Linked DNA regions of Homo sapiens: regions 1, 2, 3, 4 and 5 are each linked to region 6. The links are contacts of gene promoters, found by promoter capture Hi-C in human tissues and cell types (Jung and others, 2019). All regions are on one chromosome and are shown on one strand. Each heading gives the region's core, a stretch centred on a gene start or on the middle of the fragment in contact. The rest is flanking DNA. Distances are from core to core; before and after follow the strand shown. Region 1 overlaps CXADR (CXADR cell adhesion molecule). Region 2 has its middle 15 kb from the start of SAMSN1. Region 3 overlaps BTG3 (BTG anti-proliferation factor 3). Region 4 has its middle 140 kb from the start of SAMSN1-AS1. Region 5 has its middle 68 kb from the start of HSPA13. Region 6 holds the start of USP25 (ubiquitin specific peptidase 25).

Region 1 (2,700 bases), core at 105-2,604, 1.8 Mb after region 6:
CCCAAACCAAAAACAAAAAAACCAGGAATCAAAACCCAGAACACCCTCAAACTGCACCAATACTTCATATTTTGACCAAAAAAATATCCTGAGAGGAAGGCAAAATGCAAAATCAAATGACAGAAAAATGCTGAACAGCATTATTAATATACAAAATATTTATATTAGTGAACTAGTAACAGGTGATGTTCTCTGTGTCTGTAAAACTTTGGAACCACATAGCTGATTTGTTCAATCTAGTCCATGCCAGCTTCCAAAAACCATGCCAGCTTCATTCTTTGATGCCTCATCAAAATTTTCTACAAGATCGGGAACATCATCATCCTCCTCATCAGTGTCTTCTGGTTTTGCTGCTTTACTGTCCAAGACTTGCCGTGGGAACTGTTCAGCTAACTTCCTAAGGCTTGTTAAACTGTCAGCACCAAGCTGACTTAATATTCCAGGTATCATTTCTGTGATTGGTTTGGCTTCTGCATGACCAGTAATTGCAAAGGTGTTAGCAGAAAGGGAAGCTTGGACTTTGGGATTGTTGAAGTGAATAACTGTCCCATCATCTTTAATCATGTTCATCTCTTCAATACCAACTATATTATTCACAGCCAGTTTTTTTAGAGAACTCTGAAGCTTTTTGTCATCAGCCATGGCTGTTTTATGTACCACCTTCTTTCTGCGAGCTGTACCCTTGCCCCCTATCCGGACCTGAGCCTGAAGTTTGGCTAACTTTTCTTGATTCATGCTGTTGGTAAATCTGAAGCAGGGAGGGTCCTCCAGCACCAGCACGCGGCAAGAGCAAGATGGCTGCCCGATATGCCCCCTCTTAATCTTTTCATTCCTGCGATTATACCACCATCAGAGGAAAAATGCCTCCCCTCCAAGGCAAGCCTCCCTACATTGGCTCCTTACCCTGTCTGTTGTGGGGTCTCCATCGATTACCAACTTAGCTCACTGCACTAGATCAGAGGACAGGGCCATTACCTATATTCATTGTTGCAGTCCCTGCATGGTCTTGTGGCTCCTGGCAGACAGCTAGTGTTCAGCAAGTCCTTTTTGCATGACTGAAAGTTTTCAACTTCTTTGCCACTAGGCCTGTGTGTATGATAGAGCTCTCTTCAGTTCATCACTCTCTCCCTTCTCATCTAATAAAGATGGTCCTTACAGTGATTATTCCACTAGTCATGTCTGAGTCAGTTTTTAATCTAAAGAAGCTGAGCTTCTGCTTTATCTTTGACCTCGTTCTATTTTTTCTCCTGCTTCAGTTGCCAAAGGTTACAGTAATGCATGTGCCAAATTGGTTTATCTCTTTGGAACTCCTTGACACCTATTTTGGTTCTTTCCCACCCTGTTGACCTGCGCTTTACTGTCTTCTAAAATAGGTCCCTTAAATGTCAGCCTTCCTTATAGTTTAGCCCATAGTCAATCTTGACCTTAAACCTGGGTGACCTCTTGTATCCATCATGGTAATCTCCCAAGTATTGGTAGTGAATTAAAAATATTTTCAGCTCCCAGCCTGGCCAACATGGTGAAACCCTGTCTGTACTAAAAATACAAAAATTAGCCAGGTGTGGTGATGTGCGTCTGTAATCCCAGCTACTCAGGAGGCTGAAGCAGGAGAATTGCTTGAAGCTGGGAGGCTGAGGTTTCAGTGAGCTGAGATCGCGCCACTGCACTCCAGCCTGGGTGACAGAGCGAGACTCCATCTCAAAATAAATTATATGTATACACACACACACACACGCACGCACATGCACACACACACATATATATATAAAATATATATTTGCACCTCAACCCACCTCTGCTTTGGATCCTGGGCCACTATTTCCAACTGCGTAACTATTCAACTTCCATTCGAATACCTAACACTCTTCACTCTCCAAGTACACTCACCTGTTAATTAAGTGATACTTAATGTACTGATACTACTATGTGCAAAGCCATGTGCCAGGTGCCCCTACAATAGAACATGACATTGCAAGTTGCAAAAGCTTTGGCAGAATTTTCCAGTCAGATGGTACAGCTTTTGCAAAGACATAGAGATCTGAAGGGTTTGATATGTCTTGGGAGTTGAGTAGTTCAGTGCATGTAAGGCACCTAACCAGTGCTTCTCAAACTTTGTGCATCTGAATGATTCTTACAAGGAAGTCTAGGTGGGGCTTGTGAGTTTGCATTTTAACAAGTTTTACATGATGTCACTGCTGACCACGTTTTGTGTGGGCAAAGATCTAAAGGCCATACTGAGAGCTTGGTGGGAGCTGACAGGTCTGTCAGGTTATGCACCCTAACCCCACGGTACTAAGACATTTGTGGAAGTGTCGAGAAGTAAGGTTATACGCTGAGATTTATTTTATTGAATGGTAGCTATGTAGCAGTTCTCAAGGAAGGTAGAACTGATAGAGCTAACACAGGAATCCTCTGGGATGATCTGGACGTAAGCAGTCCCTGTTGAAACGCAGCAGAAGAGAGTTGGGCTTCTGCTTTGATCTGGAAAGCTTTTCTGAAGAAGATAGTAGTGGAACCTGATGTCTGGTTGCTTGAATGAGTAGCATGAAAAAGTTGGAGAGATTTCTGGCTTGAGTGTATAATGATGTCACTAACCTACGGGAAATAAAAAGGAGCAGGTTTTAGGGAGATGACAATGAGCTTAAGTTTGGACAGGTAGTATTTGAGGTGCCTGAGAGGCAAGGAGGTAAAAAAATATCT
Region 2 (2,700 bases), core at 149-2,648, 1.2 Mb before region 6:
TGTCTAATTTTTTTTTTTTCTTTTCTGCAGAGACAAGGTTATCCCTATGTTGCCCAGACTGGTCTTGAACTCCGGGCCTCAATTTATCCTCCCATTTCTGCTTCTCAAAGTGCTGGGATTACAGGTGTAAGCCACCAAGCCTGGCCTCAAAATCCCTCTTTTAGGCAGACAGAGATAAGAATGAATGGGATTTGAATTCCCCACAGGCATAATATATTGTTTCTGGGCTCTTCCCAGCATTCTTGTTATGCTGCAAGATTTGGAAGGAGGTGGTCTCATCTTATTTGTTTAACAATTATTTACCAAATATCTATTATGGGCCTGGGACTCTGTCAGGTGTCCAAAGACGGAAAGGTATGAACTGTGCCTTCCAAGACTTTACAGTTCAGTGGGAAGACAGGCAGATCAACAGAGAGTGAGAATCCAATGTAACATGTTCTGTATCAATCTGAGGTGTAATAAGCAGTGAAAGCATAGAGGGTAAATTGTTAATTTGCCTGGAGAAGTTAGGAAATGTTTTACTAAAAAGGTAATTCTTGAGAAAACATTTAGTGAAACAGGAATTTGTCAGGTGGACAAGAAAAATGGGGGGCATATTCTAGCAATGGGCAGAGTATATGATATTAGAGACATGAAATTGTTTGGTACTGAAACCATCTTTGCAAGATTATGGCAGCAAGAAATCTGACATAGCTGACTCCATCTTGCTTCTGACCTCCAAGCTGTCCTTGATCATTCCTGAGTGTAGGCCAAGCTAACTTTAGGAAGAATTTAGTATATAGTTTAATCTTAGAGCAAAGATTAAACTTCAAAACATGTCTCTTTCTTTGTTCAGGTAACATTATGCAGACAGGAGAGCTCTAATATAACATTTTGGACCAAACTGAGAGAGAAGAGGGGTGATCTTTTCTGCATTCTGTTTGTCTGTTTCATAGACAAGAAAACTCTGAGGAAGTTTAGTAATCAACAAGCTTTAGAAATTTTGAAAACTGGAAGAAAGGTATATCTCTCTATTTCCCATCTCTACTTCATGCTCCACATTTTAGTCAGTGCCTTTTATCTAACCACAAATCTAACTGTGTCCCTCTCTTGCTTCACAATGGTTCTTCAGTGGTTCCCCACCCCATGTAAATGTATACATGCTCGCCTTACATTCAGCTCTACGCTATTGAGCATAGTATATTAGTTTTCCAAGGCTGCCATAACGAAGTCATACAAACTGGGTGGCTTATAGCAGCAGATATTATTGTCTCAGTATTGGAGGCTAAAAGTCCAAAACTAAACCGTCTTTGCAAAACTAATGAAAGGCCACATTGTTAGGCTTTTATGAGAGGGTCTTGAACACTGATAAGATAGACACAGTTTCTACCATTCCTTACTGCTCAGGGGTCATGTAGCCAGAGGTTACAATATTTGTGACTTTCCTAATTTCTCCTGTAGATAACATCACTATTGTAGAATCTAAGATTGGTTTTTTGAGGTATCTTTCACGCTGCCCCACCCAGACTCATGACTCAACTGGTCATGTGGCCTCATCCAGAGGCAGACTCAGTGCCCGAGGACCATTTTCAACACCCTGTGATTTCATTCCCCAGCCAATCAGCAGCACCCATTCCCTAACTCCCTGCCCACAAAATTGTCCATAAAAACCACCTCCAAGCCTTTGGGGAGCCTGATTAGAGTGATAACTCTAGTTCTTCTGCATGGGCTGGCCTCAATCAATTAAATTCTTCTCTACTGCAATGCCATAGTTTCAGTGGATTTATGCTGTTTGCGTAGTTGGCAGGAAAACCTGTTGGGCAAATACAATATGGTCTAGAACTGAGGAATAATTCCCTACATCAAATGTGTATGATAAATAAGGAGAAAGACATGGGAGGGAGATGACAGGTGTTAGTTTACAGCCAGATTCTGAAGCATTTGGATGGCATGTGTTATGGGTTGAACTATATGGCCAAAAAAGATATGTTGAATTCCTGACCCCCAGCACCTCAGAATGTGACCCTCTTTGGAAATACGATTGTTGCCAACATAATTAGTTTAGTTAAGATGAGGTCATATGAAGCAGGGTGAACCCTTAATCCAATAAAACCAGTGTCCTTGAAAGAAGAGGGAAACTTGGACACCCACATGCACAAAGGGATGACCATATAAGAACAAACAGGGAGAGACTGGCCATGTGAAGATGGAGGCAGGAAGTGGAATTATGCCACCATGAATCAAGGAATGCCTAATGCCCAGGGCTATCAGAAGCTGGAAGAAACAAGGAAGGAGTCTCTCCTAGAGGCTTTGAAAAGAGCATGGCCCTGCCAATACCTTGATTTTGGACTTTTAGCCTCCAGAACTGAGACAATAATATCTGTGGCTGTAAGCCACCCAGTTTGTATGACTTTGTTATGGCAGCCTTGGAAAACCAATATACTATGCTCAATAGTGTAGAGCTGAATGTAAGGTGAGCATGTATACATTTACATGGGGTGGGGAACAATTGAAGAACCATTGTGAAGCAAGAGAGGGACACAGTTAGATATGTGGTTAGATAAAAGGCACTGGCTGAAATGTGGAGCATGGAGTAGAGATGGGAAATAGAGAGATATACCTTTCTTCCAATTTTCAAAATTTCTAAAGCTTGTTGATCACTAAACTTCCTCGGTGTTTTCCTGTCTATGAAACAGACAAACAGAATGCAGAAAAGATCAC
Region 3 (2,700 bases), core at 185-2,684, 1.9 Mb after region 6:
ACATCCTTTAAATCTAGATAATACCTAATGCAATGTAGTTATATTTTAAAATTTGTATTTTTTTAATTTTTGAGTATTTTCCATACATGGTTAAATACAGATGAAAAACCTACAGATGAGGACCAATTTGCTCATAAGCAAAGCAATAAATAAATTCTGTCTGCTAACTTCATGATAAAAATACTTGAAACTTTCCAACTTTACGCCAATCACCTACAAATCTGTCATTATCACCACAAAACTCTCAAGGACCCATAAGGAAGCAGTGTGATGACTCTGAAAGTAATTTTTTTTTCCTTTTTTTCTTTCAATAACTTTGGTTAAAAAAAATTGATAAAACGCATCTCCCTTGTGACACTAATAAACAAACATGCTCATGTTTGAATAGGCAGTCACTAGATTTCAGGAAAAGAGTAGATATGGTTTAGAGAGATGTTAAAATTGTGTATGGCTTAAAGAGTACAATATTAAAGCTAGAAAAGTCTCTAAGGTTTAAAAATGAGTTTTCTGAAGTTGCAAACTTTAAAAACTGACATTTTCATACTATTGAGCTATACCTTTATGATTTGTGCAGTTTTGTATTTCAACAGAATTTATCTTCCTAAAAATAACAATAATTTGTGGAATAGCCATGGCCATTCAATGATTTATTAGCAAGTTGTGATTTTTCTGGTAAGTCAAATAATTTAAGACTGCAAATTTAAAGATGAAGGTGATGGAAAAAGTATTGCTGATCTTAGTTTTTAAAAATTTACCTTTGGAGAAAAATCAAAACTCTTATAGAGATATCTCTTTTTTTCTTTTTGTAGTTCAAGTACCCTTACAAGACTGATGGAATTACAGTTGTATAAATATGGACTACTGAAGAATCTGAAGTATTGTATTATTTGACTTTATTTTAGGCCTCTAGTAAAGACTTAAATGTTTTTTAAAAAAAGCACAAGGCACAGAGATTAGAGCAGCTGTAAGAACACATCTACTTTATGCAATGGCATTAGACATGTAAGTCAGATGTCATGTCAAAATTAGTACGAGCCAAATTCTTTGTTAAAAAACCCTATGTATAGTGACACTGATAGTTAAAAGATGTTTTATTATATTTTCAATAACTACCACTAACAAATTTTTAACTTTTCATATGCATATTCTGATATGTGGTCTTTTAGGAAAAGTATGGTTAATAGTTGATTTTTCAAAGGAAATTTTAAAATTCTTACGTTCTGTTTAATGTTTTTGCTATTTAGTTAAATACATTGAAGGGAAATACCCGTTCTTTTCCCCTTTTATGCACACAACAGAAACACGCGTTGTCATGCCTCAAACTATTTTTTATTTGCAACTACATGATTTCACACAATTCTCTTAAACAACGACATAAAATAGATTTCCTTGTATATAAATAACTTACATACGCTCCATAAAGTAAATTCTCAAAGGTGCTAGAACAAATCGTCCACTTCTACAGTGTTCTCGTATCCAACAGAGTTGATGCACAATATATAAATACTCAAGTCCAATATTAAAAACTTAGGCACTTGACTAACTTTAATAAAATTTCTCAAACTATATCAATATCTAAAGTGCATATATTTTTTAAGAAAGATTATTCTCAATAACTTCTATAAAAATAAGTTTGATGGTTTGGCCCATCTAACTTCACTACTATTAGTAAGAACTTTTAACTTTTAATGTGTAGTAAGGTTTATTCTACCTTTTTCTCAACATGACACCAACACAATCAAAAACGAAGTTAGTGAGGTGCTAACATGTGAGGATTAATCCAGTGATTCCGGTCACAATGCATTCCAGGAGGAGGTACCCATGTCACTGGAATTGGGCGATATGGTTTATTTTTTCTTCCCTGATTTGGATAACCAAATGGAACAGGAGGAGGATAGTGATTCTGATGGCCATTCCCTCGATACATTCCTGGCTTTTTTCTGGGCAAAGGGTGCCACATTGGAAGAGGTGGAAATATAAGTTCTGAAATCTGTAGGGAAGAGAACACATTAAGTTAATTCAAAGGAAAAAATCATCATCTATGTTCCAGATTTCTCATTAAAGACAAACAAAGTTACCCACAACACTGAGATCACATCTAAGTGACACTCCTATTGTCAGGTCTAAATACATTAAAAACCTCATGTGTAATAGGCGTATAATGTATAACAGGTGACCAATGTTTTCTGAATGCATAAAGAAATGAATAAACTCAAACACAGTACTTCCTAAACAACTTCAACCAAAAAAGACCAAAACATGGAACGAATGGAAGCTTGTAAGGACATGCTTGTTTTAGTCCAGTGGTTTCCACAGCTGGCTAAGCCAGGAGTCACTTGGAGGCTTTTAAATACAAAACATTGGAGCTGGAGGCCATTATCCTTAGCAAACTAATGCAGAAACAGAAAATCAACTACCGCATGTTCTCACTTATAAGTGGGAGGTAATGATAAGAACTTATGAACACAAAGAAGGAAACAATAGACATTGGAGTCTATTTGAGAGGGGAGGGTGGGAGAAGGAAAAGGAGCAGAAAAGATAACTATTGAGTACTGGGCTTCACACCTGGGTGATGAAATAATATGTACAACAAATCCCTGTGACACATGTTTACCTATGGAACAAACCTTCATGTGTATCCCTAAACCTAAAATAAAAGTTAAAAAAAAAAAAAGATAAACACAAAACATTCATGCCCTA
Region 4 (2,977 bases), core at 409-2,908, 1.0 Mb before region 6:
GTTTATTGCCCAGGTGAATTGTACGTTCTAACTCAGTTTAGGGCACAGGTAATGTGTGTTTTGTTGATAATAAATTTAAGTTTCAGTCACTGAAAAATCATATTCTCTAATTAGGCACAACTAGAAGCCTTTCATCATTGGCAGGAAAAATAAAAATGCAATTGCACTATGGAAAACTGCGCCCAGTGATTCTCTGACCTCTAGTCAGATTATGGTATTATAGTCATTTGCAACTGGAAGCTATGGCCAGGATAGAGGTCATTATCCTTATTGGCACCTCTGGCAGTGTCCAAATTTTAGAGCATATGGCCAAATGCACATGGTCATTAATTCGCATGGATCCACTGACCAACATGAAATGATATATAACTTGCCTTCATGGACCAAAGCAGGAGGAGCTTCTATGCTAATGAAGTCTGGCCAATCCTGAACCTATTTCTCTCTCTCTCTCTTTTTTTTTTAATATATATTATTTTATTTTACTTTAAGTTCTGGGATGGATGTGCAGAACGTGCAGGTTTGTTACATAGGTACACATGTGCCATGGTGGTTTGCTGCACCTATCAACCCGTCATCTAGGTTTTAAGCCCTGCATGCATTAGGTATTTGTCCAAATACTATCCCTCCCCTTGCCTCCTACCCCTCAACAGGCCCTAGTGTGTGATGTTTCCCTCTCTGTGTCCACATGTTCTCATTGTACAACTCCCACTTATGAGTGAGAACATGTGGTGTTTGGTTTTCGGTTCTTGTGATAGTTTGCTGAGAATGACGGTTTCCAGCTTCATCCGTGTCCATGCAAAGGACATGAACTCATTCTTTTTTTATGGCTGCATAGTATTCCACGGTGTATATGTGCCACATTTTCTTTATCCAGTCTATCATTGATGGGCATTTGGGTTGGTTCCAAGTCTTTGCTATTGTAAATAGTGCTGCAATAAAAATATGTGTGCATGTGTCTTTATAGTAGAATGATTTATAATCCTTTGGGCATATACCCAGTAATGGGATTGCTGGGTCAAATGGTATTTCTGTCCTAAACCGATTTCTAAGGAGAAATAAAGTTGCTCCTAAACTTCAGCTTCTTAAATTTTTATCAACTCTAGATATATTTTGGTAGAAAACTGCCCAAGCTTTACCGGAATTCCTAAAGAGGAAGGATTCCTAGGGTACAGCTATAAGTGGCCCAGGATAGTCTGCAATAATAATTGGCATAGCATTGAAATAAATATCTTGGGTGCTGCAACACCCTTTAAACTACACTCGTCTAAAAGGCCACGTGTTTTGCCTTTAGGGGATAACTTTGTTGTGTTGATCACCTGCAGGAGTTTCCATACCAGTGTCTAAATGCTTCAAGAGGAAGCACTTAGTCTTAGGTATCTTTGCAATTCTAAAGAAACCCACAGCACTCATTAAGTGTTTGATGAATTAAACTGAAACAGTAGAGAGCAATTTTACTCCGGCTAAAGTTACATGTAAACAAGACTTGAGGTTTTAGCACCCCATGGGGATGCCATAGTTGGCTCCCCTTACATTTCTTTATGTATTCCAGAATACTTTTGGAGTGCCTCTTCTGAAGTGTTAGGTACTAGGAATGGGTTTCCTGTCCTTAGGAGGCTTACTATCTGTCAGAGATGCTCAGGTGCCTTGGCTAATTGTTATCTGGTTATTATCTATCAAGGAACAATTACTACCAAGGCCTGTAGGAGGCATAGATTTACGTAGAAAACAAGGTGTAGTTTCAGTGTGAGGTAGAACTGATGGGTAAAGAAGCAGTTAAAATTGAATACGAGGAGTTACCTAAAGGGGTAAGCAGGGAATGGGAAGGAAGAAGTTATATCTAAACTGGAACCTGAGGCCAGGTGCGGTGGCTCATGCCTGTAATCTCAGCACTTTGGGAGGCTGAGGCAGGCAGGTCACTTGAAATCAGGAGTTTCAGACCAGCCTGGTCAACCCCGTCTCTACTAAAAATACAAAAATTAGCTGGGCATGGTGGTGCACACCTGTAATCCCAGCTACTCTGGAGGCTGAGGCAGGAGAATTGCTTCAATCTCAGAGGCAGAGATTGCAGTGAAACGTGATTAAATACTTACTGGCATTACTCTTATCCCTAATATCACCTTAAAACTTAAAGACTGTCAATATCTGTTAGAGTCAGAGTGAAAAAGAATTCTGACATCACTGAGTTAAACATAGTGGAAATTAAGTTGCTGAAAATAAAAAAATGTATATTCTTTAAATGATAACTAAAAATATGCATACATACCCTTATTAGTTTTTAGGGATATTCGTTGAAAATGAGGATTTATCTTCACTCAATTTTAACATAAAATCTAAAGATTACTTAGAATTATAAAACATAATTTAAATAAAATAAAAATATATATAAAATAAACATTAAAATCAATATAAAAGGCAACTAGGAAAGTTTAACAATTTCTAACATTTCAAAGACTTCTTTTTTCCCTTATTGTTTTTTCCTTATTGTTTGTCAATTTCTAATTTAAATACATTAAGAATTAGGGCCAGGCATGCTGACTCATGCCTGTAATCCCAGCACTTTGGGAGGCCGTCACGGCCAGATCACGAGGTCTAGAGATCGAGACCACCCCGGACAACATGGTTAAACCCCGTCTCTACTGAAAATATAAAAAATTAGCTGGGCGTGATGGCACACACCTGTAGTCCCAGCTACTCGAGAGGCTGAGGCAGGAAAATCACTTGAACCTGGGAGGTGGAGGTTGCAATGAGCTGAGATTGTGTCACTGCACTCCAGCCTGGGCCACAAGAGAGAGACTCTGTCTCAAAAAAAAAAAAAAAAAAAAAATTAGAAAATCACACATATCTCAAATTCTACATTACAGATCAAACTGTCTTTCAATAATTCTTTGGTTTATCTTTATCTTAGCCAATAATTCCTCTTTTATCTATTGTTATTAAATTCCATTTGATTTTCTTATCTTTTGTATCCAATAGAATT
Region 5 (2,744 bases), core at 53-2,552, 1.3 Mb before region 6:
ACAGTGCCTTTCACTAGTGAGTGTGAAATCAGTTTTGCAGGTCAAAACCAGCATTTCAAATATGAAGTAGAAAAAATAAAATAGAAAATATTTAAGTGAAGTGCATGAAATTGGGGGAAATATTATTTCATGACATTTTGTTTCCATTTTTTTCTTTGTGTATGTGAGACCTCACATACTAAATCCTTATGAAAAATTTATTTCTTGGGAGATGACAGTGAAAAAAAAGGTTAAGAAGTAATCTTTTTTAAAAAATAACTTTATGCTTTTTGATTTGAGGATTGTTTTGACAATATGATAAAAGTTATGGTTCTTCTCTCAAAATAAAGGCACACAAATCTACACACCTATGTTTTGGGTACAAACGTAAAGGGCTGATAAACCATATGACTCTCATCCACTGTGCTCAAGTTGAGGACATCTGCTCTAGCTAAAAATGGCATGTATTCTCTGGAAAGGGAAGAAATGGCCCTGGAGATCTCTTCTGTGCTCTTGGCCTCAACATTTAAATATTCAGCCTGAATGCCTTTAGTATTTTAAAGCTAACAGCATAGCCTGAAGCGGATGAGATGATGAGATGTTAGCACATTTGGTTAATAACTTTTTATTAAATAAAGTAAAACTAAGTATATGGCGATGTTCAAACCATTCCACACCAGCTCCACTGAACTTACATTCCAAAGAGGAAGAAAGGCAATAAGCAACTAAATAATAAATGAATGAAGTAATTTCAGATAGGGTTAAGTGTTATAGAGGAAATAATTGGAATGATGAAATAGAGAAAACTGGAGAGGAGGTGCAATAAGTTAAGGAAGATACAGTAGTTTATTGTGAATGAAGGTCCAGGGAATGCCTCTTTTTTATTAGATATGATTACTGTACCAATATCTGTGGTCATGCCTCCTCTACCACATTACAACTATCAGTGCTTTACAATATTTCAAGAACTCCATGAATATTTGTAGATTGGTGACTTTATTTCAGAATTGATGGAGAAAATATCATGGCTAAGAGTATAGATTCTAGCATCAGACTGCCTAAGATTGGATCCTTGCTTTGTCCTTTACTGACAATGTAGTTGGAGGGAAGTTACTTAATCTTGTTGACTTTCTATTTCTTCTAGTTTATCTCTAAAATGGGAAAAATAGTATTACCTACATGATAAGGAGGATTAAATAGGTTAAGATATGTAAAGAGCTTGTGTATTACATTTTCTGGTTATCCACTCCAGAATTCAGTGGCTTCAAGTAACAGGCATTTTATGATATCTCACAATTTTCTGGGTCAGAAATGTAGGCAGATCTCAAAAGGGCAATTCTTCTCCTTCATTCTTCTGTTTCATCGGTTGGCCATTGGTGGTATTTGGCTGGCAAATGAGCTGGTTGGGAGGTCCAGGTGGCTTTACCCACATATCTAGCATGTGTAGGTATGACTGGAAGGCTGAAAAGATTGACCAGATGTCCTACTTGTGACCTTTCCAGCAGACCTTCTCAGGATAATCAGATTTCTTATGCAGAAGCTCAAGACTCTGAGACAGAGTGTTTTAAGAAAAGAGAAATAGGTGCTGCCAGATTTTTAGGGGCCAGGTCCAGAAACTAACACAGAGACAGTTTTGTCCTGTTCAACTCATCAAAGCCATTAGAGATACAACCCAGATTGAGGGAGGAATTCTAGATTCCATCTCTCTATGGGAAAAATATCAAAAAATGTATAGCCATCTTTAACCTGCCACACTATCTACAGCACTTAGAAAGTACTAGTTAAGACTCTAAGCTATAATTATTTTATCTTGTTTTTACCTTTCAAAAACTCTGGTTATGTTTATTTCAGATTGAGTAGCAAAATCAACCTTTAGCCTTGATTTCTCTTTACCTTTTCCGTCCCTAATTTTTAAAATAGCCCTCATCAGTAGGTGCCAGTTGGAGATTTAAAAACAGGCATGCCCTATACAAGCCAGTGAGTATTAATTGTGAGTGTTTCCCTCTCATGGTAGCAACAGTTTTTATTTATGTCATAAGTCACACATATCTTGGTTTCAGTATATTCATTGGTAGCCCATAATCCCACTAATATTACCACACAGCTGTGTGTGTTTCTTCTTCAGAGAACAAGGGAACAAGACTTAGCAGCAAGGTGATATCTGAGTACATTAAAATTCATAGTGAACAATAAAATGTTTCTTGACCCATATACGACTTGACTGAACCCCAGTTTGTTACTTTTTTCTCCCCAATATCAACAAAATCTTCCAAATTAAAACAGCAGAAACACAAAGCCACATAAAAAGTTGAACGAGTTCACATTTTAAAATTTCTTGTAAAAGACTGATGATTGTGTGACCTTAATCTAAACAGACATTTCCTGTAACCGCTTATGCCCCATAAGGAATCTGCAGCTAATAGGGCCTCTGCATTCTTATCTATTGGCTTGGCTGTCTGAATGAGTATGTATTTGCTTTGACCATCTGCTCCTATCCCTCATTTTTTATTTAATTTTTTTTCAGATTTAATACTGTCCTGAGGTACACAAATGCTCTTTTTGGTTTGTGAAGCTCAAGGTCAATTTAAAGGCAAGTCCCTAGAGAAGTGAGCATTTGTGACTAGGTCATCTATTTCCCTGAATCTGTTACAGCTTTTGAGACGTATGTAAGAAGGAGAAAGCAGATAAGCCAAATTGGTTTTTGAGACGAGGGGCACCTACAAATGTAGCACTATTGACCATGAAAGTGTAGCATAATAGTATTT
Region 6 (2,964 bases), core at 114-2,613:
GAAAAATGGGTTTTGATAAGCTCTCTTTGACAGGTCACCCTCCTTGGGCTTCAGAGTTATAAAAAAATCGATACGTGAGATTAGAGATGTGACAGTATTTCTAAATTTCTGTTTCCAACCGTTTCATGACTTTTCATTTCCTCTAGAAAAGACATAGGATATTAATATAATAAGATTTGCAATTTGTTAAATATCAAATGAGTCAACAAATATGAAGCTTCAAGGAAAAGGTGACAACAGGTGGTACCAGACATCTGAGCTGCAGAACAAAGATGGTTGTAAAGTGCACAGAACTGTTACAAAGCCTTAAGAGCTACTATAATCCATGATTATTAAATAACACCACATACTATTTCAATTAGCATTTGCCAAGCTTGCTTTCCTTGTCATTGGATTAAAAATTATACCCGGATTTTCAAGTGTATTCTATTTGTGACAATATGCATTGATAATTTCTCTCCTCACACTGCTGCACTCTCACCTCCGTTCCCAGATTAGCTCCTGGAACTCGAGATATTTTTGTGGCTAGAGATTGCTTTCTTAATGTTAGATTTTCCTTACAATTCCATATATAGTCAAGCATTCCATGCATGGTAGTTAATTGTTTGCTTAATTTGGCAACTGGGATATTAGAATTATGTATCATTAGGCAGTGATATTTTTGTAAGGTTGTTTGCTAGATAGATCCTATTTCATTTATATTAAGTCTTGGGAAGATAAACTTTATTTTTCCAGAGCCTAGCAGTGACTGACACATATTCGAATGAATGAAGGTAGATAGAAAATGTCTATATTCATTTACGTAATGATTAGTTAAGGAGAAAAGTACTTCCCAGCATAAAGATTTCTGGCAACCCTTTGCTTATTTGACTTTTCCCTTCAGGCAAGTTCAAGGCTTGTGAAATTCCTAGAAAGGCGAGGGGAGAGAACGCGTGACACAGAAAGGGGCCGGAGTTCGGGACCCTACGCAGTTTTGGGACGTTATGGGCATGGAGGGAAATGTTTGCTTTGGAGGCTTTGGGTAAGCTAGGGATCCGACAAGCCCTGGGCGCAGGGAGGAACGCTGCCCTCCGGCCTCCAGTCGCGCTCCCCGAAGCCCAGCGCCAGCGTCGCGCAACCTGCCGCAGGGGCGGCTCCCGGGCCAGGCAGCCAGGCGCGCCCTCGCCCCACCCGGGAACGCCAGGCCCGCGCAGGGAGGGGCGGGGCTCCATGGCGGCCCCGCCCCGCCGCCCGGAGGGTCACAATGTAGGGTTAGGGCGGCCGGCGGGCGGGGCTCTGCGGGGGAGGAGCCGCCGGGCGGGGGCGGGGATGGCGCGTGGGGGAGGGGAGGGAGGAGGACTCGCGGAGGGAGGAGGACAACGCCATTCCGGGCGGCCGCTCCCTCCGTCCCCTCTCTCCCTTCCCCAAAGCAGCCCGCGGACCGGCAGCAAAGGAACGTGCGAACGCGTGACGCCGCCCGACTGGCTCGCGCTCTCCCGTGCCCCGGCGTCCTCCGCCCGCTCATGGCCCGGGCCGCCGCGGACGAGCGGCGCTGAGGCGGGCCGCGTGGAGACGTGAGGCGGCCGCCGTGGCCCTCACAGTCGGCGTTTCGCCGCCTGCCCGCGGTGCCCGCGCACGCCGGCCGCCATCGCCTTCGCGCCTGGCTGGCGGGGGCGCTGTCCTCCCAGGCCGTCCGCGCCGCTCCCTGGAGCTCGGCGGAGCGCGGCAGCCAGGGCCGGCGGAGGCGCGAGGAGCCGGGCGCCACCGCCGCCGCCGCCGCCGCCGCCGCGGGGGCCATGACCGTGGAGCAGAACGTGCTGCAGCAGAGCGCGGCGCAGAAGGTGAGGCGAGTCCGCCAGCCGGCGGGCCCCACTTCTCCTTCCGACGGGCTGTCCTCTCCCGCTGCGGCCGGGCGCCCCGGCCTCGCCGCCGCCGCCTTCCCGGGCTTCCTCCCCGGTCACCCCCGGCCCCTGCCCATCGCCTCGGGGGCGTCGCGCCCAGAGCCCAGCTGCGTGTGGGAAGCAGAGTGTAGTTTGCGGGCTTCAATCCACTTCCTTCTGCCGATTGTTTTCCCGTAGCAGACGGTGCCAGGTATTGAGAGCGACCCTCACATTCCTACAGTGCTCTGTGTGGCATCTTAATGAAACTTTATTCTCTCCCCTTAAATGAGAAAGAATAGCTAGTTGTCATCCTTTCTGAACCGATTTTGTCTTTCAAAGGTAGTAGTGTACCAGGCCTGCTATTTTGCAAAACGGTCTCCACCAAAATCGAATTACCTGCCTCGCGGGGCAGGCGTGTTGACCAGGTGGACTCTAGAAGTAGGTGGTTTGCTTGGTTTCTTTTCCTTTTAAGGTTTCCCTTTCTTCTTCTTCTTTTCTGTTTTTTTTTTTTTTTTTTTTTTTTTCAATATAGAAACTGTCCCTAAGAGAGGAAACCTTTCTGGCCATGTTATTCCAGGAATCTTTTGTCCCCTAAGTTTGACCTTGTTCTTTCGTTCACCCTTTACTCTTGCATCAGTCACACATTCAAATGGTCACTCACTAAAGAAAACAATTAAAAAACTGTTTGTGAAACTTTATATCTTTAAAGTGAATAGAGATCATTCTGCTATTTTAGATTTTGCTTTCAGAATCTTAAGTGCACTATCATGGCTTGCACCATGTTCTGAAGAGTAGTTGGCCATGATTTAACTTCTTTTTTTAATTTTTAATTTGCGTGAAAAGCATTTTGGGCAAAAGAGTAAACCGTGCCTTAGTTGTGTTGGTATTACGGGGACAGTTAGGGTTTACTGTGATCAACCACCAGAGTTATGTTTGGTTTATCTGGGTGAGTAATGAATGCCCCACCCTGTTGTAGATTTGGTGTAGATTGCAATATTCTACCTGTGCTTGACTTTAGAATAAGACCTGTTCTAAAATGGGCTGTCTACATACAGCCTGCTAAATTTTTGCTTTGAGATTATTTTTAGAATTTTATGATACTGCT

What was found. The method cuts DNA at HindIII sites, captures the fragments that hold promoters and counts their contacts. A contact is called where the count stands out against the background at its distance.
Region 1: a contact is called between a fragment that was not itself captured here and the fragment with the promoter of USP25 in region 6, in 1 of the 25 tissues and cell types used here (dorsolateral prefrontal cortex).
Region 2: a fragment that was not itself captured here is called in contact with the fragment with the promoter of USP25 in region 6 in 2 of the 25 tissues and cell types used here (dorsolateral prefrontal cortex and spleen).
Region 3: a fragment that was not itself captured here is called in contact with the fragment with the promoter of USP25 in region 6 in 1 of the 25 tissues and cell types used here (dorsolateral prefrontal cortex).
Region 4: a fragment that was not itself captured here is called in contact with the fragment with the promoter of USP25 in region 6 in 1 of the 25 tissues and cell types used here (lymphoblastoid cells).
Region 5: a contact is called between a fragment that was not itself captured here and the fragment with the promoter of USP25 in region 6, in 1 of the 25 tissues and cell types used here (lymphoblastoid cells).

The regions. Positions count from the first base shown.
Region 1 is chr21:17,518,259-17,520,958 of GRCh38, forward strand. All of the region lies in intron 1 of CXADR (CXADR cell adhesion molecule), which reads left to right. It also overlaps the pseudogene BTF3L4P1. Among named protein-coding and RNA genes, the nearest start is that of CXADR, 6.6 kb to the left of the region's middle. The HindIII fragment of the contact is 3,232 bases long and covers 1-2,700 here.
Region 2 is chr21:14,559,660-14,562,359 of GRCh38, forward strand. It overlaps a transcript of SAMSN1 not described here. Among named protein-coding and RNA genes, the nearest start is that of SAMSN1, 15 kb to the left of the region's middle. The HindIII fragment of the contact is 4,835 bases long and covers 1-2,700 here.
Region 3 is chr21:17,592,343-17,595,042 of GRCh38, forward strand. BTG3 (BTG anti-proliferation factor 3) reads right to left here. Exons shown (of 5, transcript NM_006806.5): 5 at 1,311-1,990. The coding sequence ends at 1,751. It also overlaps a transcript of CXADR not described here. Among named protein-coding and RNA genes, the nearest start is that of BTG3-AS1, 18 kb to the right of the region's middle. The HindIII fragment of the contact is 4,038 bases long and covers 1-2,700 here.
Region 4 is chr21:14,721,600-14,724,576 of GRCh38, forward strand. No RefSeq gene overlaps it. Among named protein-coding and RNA genes, the nearest start is that of SAMSN1-AS1, 140 kb to the left of the region's middle. The HindIII fragment of the contact is 3,165 bases long and covers 77-2,977 here.
Region 5 is chr21:14,449,706-14,452,449 of GRCh38, forward strand. No RefSeq gene overlaps it. Among named protein-coding and RNA genes, the nearest start is that of HSPA13, 68 kb to the left of the region's middle. RefSeq lists a cis regulatory region at 2,415-2,576. The HindIII fragment of the contact is 8,805 bases long and covers 1-2,744 here.
Region 6 is chr21:15,728,619-15,731,582 of GRCh38, forward strand. It overlaps USP25 (ubiquitin specific peptidase 25), which reads left to right and starts at 1,364. Exons shown (of 26, transcript NM_001283041.3): 1 at 1,364-1,820. The coding sequence starts at 1,776. RefSeq lists a silencer at 969-1,928. The HindIII fragment of the contact is 10,815 bases long and covers 1-2,964 here.